Linked DNA regions of Homo sapiens: region 1 is linked to region 2. The links are contacts of gene promoters, found by promoter capture Hi-C in human tissues and cell types (Jung and others, 2019). All regions are on one chromosome and are shown on one strand. The core of a region is centred on a gene start or on the middle of the fragment in contact, and the rest is flanking DNA. Distances in the headings are between cores, read along the strand shown. Region 1 overlaps LOC105372210 (a long non-coding RNA gene). Region 2 holds the start of TSHZ1 (teashirt zinc finger homeobox 1).

Region 1 (3,185 bases), core at 544-3,043, 1.0 Mb before region 2:
TACATATATACATATGTGTGTATACATATATACATATGTGTGTATACATATATACATATGTGTGTGTATACATATATACATATGTGTGTGTATACATATATACATATGTGTGTGTATACATATATACATATGTGTGTGTATACATATATACATATGTGTGTGTATACATATATAACATATATATATACACACATAATGCACATTACACACATATATGTGATTACCAGGAAAATTATCAGTATATTACACAGTATACATTAGTATATCATTACATATTTACTGGTGGTGTCCCTTTCTGTCCCTAGTAATTCTCTTTATTCTGAAATCTACTTTATGTGATATGAATATAGCCACTTCCTGATTCCTTTTGATTGATGTTTGGATGGCATATCTTTCCTTTTACTTTCATCCTGCTTACACTGTTTTACTAAATGTGAATTCATTGTTGACACCATATGGTTGGGCCATGTATTTTAGCCTACTCTGGAAATCTCTGTCATTTTTGTTAAAGTAACTTTATTAAGGTATGATTGACATGTAAAAAGCTTACATATTTTATGTGTACAACATGGTGAGTTTGGGGATAAATACACACCTGTGAAACTATCATCACTGTCAGGGCTATAAACATATCCATCACCCCCCAAAATGTCTTCATGCCCCTTTTATTATCATTATAATTTTTAAAGCAAATTTTAAGTATACAATACAGTATTGCTAGCTATAGGTATTATGCTATATAGTAGACTTTCAGAACTTATTTATCCTGCATAACTGAAACTTTGTGTCCTTTGACCATCACCTGCCCATTTCCTCCTCCTTCTAGCCCCTGGAAGTCATCACTGTATTCTATGTTTCTATAAGTATGACTATTTTAGATTTCACATATAAGTGAGGTCATGTAGTACTTGTCTTTCTTTATGTGGCTTATTTCAGTTAGCATAGTGTTGTCCAGGTCCATTCATAATGTCATAAAAGGTAGAAAATCTCAGTCTTACTTGGTATACTTAGACCACTTACAGTTAATATAATCACTTATGTGTTAGGGCATATGTCTGTCATTTTACTTTTTGTTTGTCTCTCTTGGTTTTGTTTCTCTGTTGTCTTCTCTCTACTTTTCCATGGGTAACTTGAAAACTCTTTAGAATTCCATTTCTATTTATTTATAGTTTTTTAGTGATTTCTTTGCATGCCTTCTTTAGTGGTTCCTCTAGGCATTACATTATATACATAACTTAAAGTCTACGGGTGATGTCATTTTACCAGTTTGAGTGAACTGTACATTGTATACTGTTTAAAGAACTTCCTGCCGGGCTTAGTGGCTCACGCCTGTAATCCCAGCACTTAGGGAGGCCGAGGCGGGCGGATCACGAGGTTAGGAGAACGAGACCACGGTGAAACCCCGTCTCTACTAAAAATTAGCCAGGCGCGGTGGCGGGTGCCTGTGGTCCCAGATACTCGGGAGTCTGAGCCAGGAGAATGGCGTGAACCCAGGAGGCGGAGCTTGCAGCGAGCCAAGATCGCGCCACTGCACTCCAGCCTGGGCGACAGAGTGAGACTCCGTCTCAAAAAAAAAAAAAAAAAAAAAAAAAAAAAAAAAAAAAGAAAAAGAACTTCCTATAGACATTTTCTTGGGAGAGATCTGTTGGCAACAAATTCTTTTAGCTATTTTTCATCTGAAAGTATTTAGTTTCTCCATCATTCCTGGATATAGAATTATGAGTTGACAGTTCTTTTCTTTCAGAACCTGAAAAATGTCATAGCAATTTCTTCTGGACTACATGGTTTCTTATCAGAAATCTGCTATCTTTTCAATTGTTTTTCCCCTTTATGTAAGATGTCATTTCACTCCTGCTGCTTTTTTTTTTGACTCTAGTTTTCAGATTTTGACTATGATATATCTTCTCATGGATTTCATTGGGTTTGTCTTGTTTGGGAATTTTCTCTGCTTCTTGAATCCATAGGTTTATGTCTGTGCAACTTTGGGATATTTTTCAGTTATTATCTTATCGAGTAAACTCTACCTTCTCTCTCCTCTCCTTCCCAGACTCTGGCGCCATGAATATTAGCTATTTAGTGATAGCAACAGGCTCTTTGTTTTTCAGGCTGCTTTTTCTCTGTTGTTCCAGTGGAATAATTTCTATTGTTTTATATTCCAGTTCACTGATTCTTTCCTCTGTCCCTTACATTTTGCTGTTGAGTCTATCCATTCAGTTTTAAAATTTTAGTTGTTTTCTTCAGTTCTACAGTTTTCGTTTAGTCCTTCTGTATATGTTCTCTTGTTTTGCTGAGACTTTCTTAATTTTTTTCAAAATGTACATGCTCATTGAAGCATTATTAGGATGACTACTTCAAAATCTTTCACAGGTAATTCTAATGTCTGTACCATCTCAGTATTGGTGTCTATTGATTGTATTTTCTTATTGAAATTGAGATATTCTTGGTTTTCCTATGATGAATAAGTATTGGTTACAACCTAAGCATTTGTGTAGTATGTTATGAGTCTCTGGATTCCACTTAAGTCTCCTATTTTAGCAGACCTTCTCTGACACTTCTATGGCACAGGAAGGAAGGGTGGGGATGCCACTCATTACAACCAGGTAGGGTGGAAGTCCAAGTTCCCCACTTGGTCTCTGTTGATAGAGGAAGAGGTAAAGGCATCTCATTAGTGCTAAATGTGGTTGGGAGCTCAAACTCCCCACTAGGTCTTGCTGATACCTAACCTGGCTGGGAGGGACAGTGTGCTTGTGTCTGCATGCTATATGGCCTTCACTGACATTATGGTGGGATGGTTTTGTTCCTATTGTTTAGTGATAAAAATCCTGACTGTCCAGGAGGTCACTTCTGATACCATGACTGTGGGGAGGGGAAGGTTTCTTTGTTACCGTGGGTGAGCTGGAAGTACAGACTCACCATTTGGCTTTCCTAGGCAACATCATGGAACAGGGTTTGGGTGCCTCATTATGGCTCTGTCATGATGGAAGTCCAAACTTTCCGTGTGCTGGCAGGGGTGGGAGTGGGCTGCGGATTTTTGTGGTATTTGGCTGGAATAAAATGAGTTTCACTTAAGAGTTTTCACTCTTATTAAGCAGTGCCTCCTCTGGTCTTTGTCTATGGGGAACAAGCTTTCCTCTCTGTTTCTTTCTGTGTGCCCATGGATATTTCTGGGTTTCTGGCTTCTCTAG
Region 2 (3,080 bases), core at 439-2,938:
TCAATCAGAGTCTGCACTATCACTGCCTTGTGCTGGCCTGATCAAAAGACATCTTTAGAGGTAATAAAAAAAAAGTGGGGGCGGGGGGCCTCTTGCACAGGACATTAAAGGCTGCTGTTTTCCAGAGAAATCTTCTGAACACATTCTTTGCGTCCCAGCCTGGTGACCTTGTTTTCAAGTGTCAGGTTCAGCCTCCCCGCCTTTGGAGGACTTTTCCAGTGCGCTCCGGCAGCCAAGGAGCAACTACTTCCCCTCAGCGCACGCCCCCTCCTGAGGTAGCCAGAAGCACCCGCCGTCCCGCGGCCCCCGGCCTCCCCCGGCCATCCGGGCTTCCCGCAGCGCAGAGAAGCACCGCGAACTTTCTCTGCTCCACGCGCCGGCCCAGGTTGGGGGTGTGGGGGAGGACGGCGACCGCAGCCTCCAGACGACTGTGGCCAGCGCAGGCTGGGCCTCCCCTCCCCAGCTTGGGGCGGCCCGCGGCCCACGTCCCGCACCTCGGCCCGCGAAGCCCCCTCCTCCTGCTCCTCCCGGCGCCCACTCCCCGCGGCGCGGGCCGCGCGCCCGTTACCTGCCGAGCGCCGGGGGGCCTGCTGCTTCCTCCTCGGCATGCTGCTCGGCCGCCGCAGCCGTCGCCTCAGCCGCCGCCGGAGTTCGCGGGGCGCGGGGACGCGGGGCCCCGGGCGCGGGCGCAACTCCGCGGCGCGCCCAACTTTGGCCTCGTCCCCGCGGGCTCCGGGCTCCGGGCGCGCCGCGGACCGCGGGGAGCCGCTCGCATGGACCGCCGCGCCCGGGGCCGCTCAGGAGGCGGCGGCGGCGGCCGCGCGGCCCGCTTCCCGGCGCCGGGCTGCGGGCGGAGCGCGCGGGGCCTGGGCGCCGAGCCCGGAGTCATCCCCGGCGCGGGCCGCGGGCGCAGCAGCGGGCGCTCGGCGGGCCGGCCCGCGGCCCGCGCTCCATGCTGCCGCCTCCCCGCCGCCGCGCTGCTGCTGGGCGGGCGCTCCTCCCGGCGCGCCGCTCCGGGCGCTCCCCTGCGCCTTCTTCCGCGAGCCGAGAGTCGCCGAGCGCAACTTTCTCTCCCCCTCTCTCCTCGCTGTTTGGGGGTCGCGGCGAGTGTTTTTAGTGCGCGGGTCGCAGCTTTCTCATTGTGCGCCAGCGAGGCCGATGCAGGCTGTCCTTTTCCTCCCCGCACTTAGTCTAAGAGGAAGAAAGCAAACAAGACAGAGGAGTGAAGCCCCCGTACATACATGCGCCGGGGGGAGATGTCAGGCGCTGCTCCACCTTCCAAACAGTCACAGATCAAACAGTGTCACCCCGCCGGAGCGCCACTTGGTGCCCCGCGCTTCCACCCGGGGGGCTTGGCCGCCAGGATCGCCGCTTCTTCCAATGCGAAATCTAATGCAAACACATTTTGATCATGGATTTTTGGCCGGTCTTGATCTTCCAACAGAAAAAAATTTGAAAAATACACAAAAAGCACCCCCCCCTCCAAGAAAAAAAAAAGGCAACAACAACCCGGAGAGTGTGTGCAAAGGGGGTGAAGAGCAGACATTCACTGGGTGGGCGAGATGAGCGTGGACTGTCCCCCCCCCCCTCAAACTCCTGGGAGAGAGGGAGATGCACTCTCGCTCTCTCCTCTTTTCAGTGAAATATAACACACATTCGGATCGCAGAGCTTTCAGACAGTCTCAACTGATAGACAGACACATCGAGCTGCTTTTCCTGCTTCAGTTTTTACTCCTCCTCCTCTCGCCAACGTCACCCTGACAATTACAAATAGGTCTCTCACAAACCATACCTGTCAATCTTTTTAATTGCTTTGTTTTCTTTTTTTCGGAGCTAAACAATATGACAAAAAAAAGAAATCTTAATACAGCATAACATAAAAGATTGTACATTGGAGGAATTCATTCAGTGTTGTTATTGTAACCCACTGGCTGATACCGGGTAAAACCCATATGCTCTAAGTTAAGTAGACATTAGTTCCTGCAGATTTTTAAACCTGTTAGTTCCCCCCCAACACACACACATACACATACACACACTTGCACATTCATACACACGCAACCACGTGCATCCAAACTACCCTTGGGTGAAGCATGTCCTACATTTGGGGGGAAAAATATCTGTGTCGCTTTTGCAATCTCAGGTTGGGGGGTTAGATTTGGCTGGGGAGGAGCCCAGAGTAGCTTTTATATTTTGGTAATTCGTGGGTAACTGAAAAGCAAGATATTTTTAAAATTAAATTTTACAATTTAAATAAAAATGTAAAGATGGACTTAGTTCATCACAGAAAAGTGTGGAAATATTTAATTTGGCCCCTCTATAAAAAGTGAATTGACATTTGGTCCATGCACGCCAGTAGGGAGAAAACGGACACGATGGAACGACAGATCTTTCTAGCTGGGTTCGAAAATGAGGTCCTCACACAGCAGTGCAACGTCTCCAATTCAGTTAAGTCCCTCGGCATCCCCACGTAGAACTTTAAAATGTGTCTGTGCTCTGGGAATTTGGCCTTCTGGTTTTCTATATGTGTGTTCTCTCCCAATGGGAAACCTGTAACAGTCTTGTAGATCTACTTAAAACATTCATGGAAAAACATGAAATCTAGGCCAAAATAAATAAAATGGCTTAGTTCCTGCAACTTGCATGGGACAGACCGTGGACAGAAAGCACGCGCAAGGGGTTCCGGGGACAGGAAGCCACCAGCCTGGGGAGCGGGAGGCACTGGACATTTCCCCGCCCCGCGGTCGGTACGGGTGCGCGTGCGGCAGCGGCGGCAGGGGCTCCCCGCCCTGCCCGGGGTCCCCGGTCGTGCCCCGCCGCCCGGGCCGCGCTCGGGGTTGATTCGTACCACCTTGCAAGGAAGTGAACGCTTCGCACGGGAAGGGGAGGCGCCTGCGCCGGCCGCCGCGCAGCTCCGGGGACGCCCGGGGCTGCCGCCGGCTCGGGGCCGCAGACGACCGCGGGACGCGCGAGTCCCCCGTCCCCCCTTGCCCGCCGTCCCCCCCGCCACCCTTGCCCGAGAGGAGTCAAATCCGGCTTTTAGAGCTCGGGGAGGGTGGGGATATCCGGTGCCTCTCCCG

What was found. The method cuts DNA at HindIII sites, captures the fragments that hold promoters and counts their contacts. A contact is called where the count stands out against the background at its distance.
Region 1: a contact is called between a fragment that was not itself captured here and the fragment with the promoter of TSHZ1 in region 2, in 1 of the 25 tissues and cell types used here (dorsolateral prefrontal cortex).

What each region holds. Positions count from the first base shown.
Region 1 is chr18:76,236,927-76,240,111 of GRCh38, reverse strand. All of the region lies in intron 1 of LOC105372210 (a long non-coding RNA gene), which reads left to right. The region is part of intron 1 of LOC105372209 (a long non-coding RNA gene); the gene reads right to left. Among named protein-coding and RNA genes, the nearest start is that of LINC01893, 29 kb to the right of the region's middle. The HindIII fragment of the contact is 3,834 bases long and covers 1-3,185 here.
Region 2 is chr18:75,209,405-75,212,484 of GRCh38, reverse strand. It overlaps TSHZ1 (teashirt zinc finger homeobox 1), which reads right to left and starts at 1,688. Exons shown (of 2, transcript NM_001308210.2): 1 at 569-1,688. The coding sequence starts at 608. RefSeq lists silencers at 375-694, 2,632-3,080 and enhancers at 1,577-1,871, 2,911-3,080. The HindIII fragment of the contact is 23,508 bases long and covers 1-3,080 here.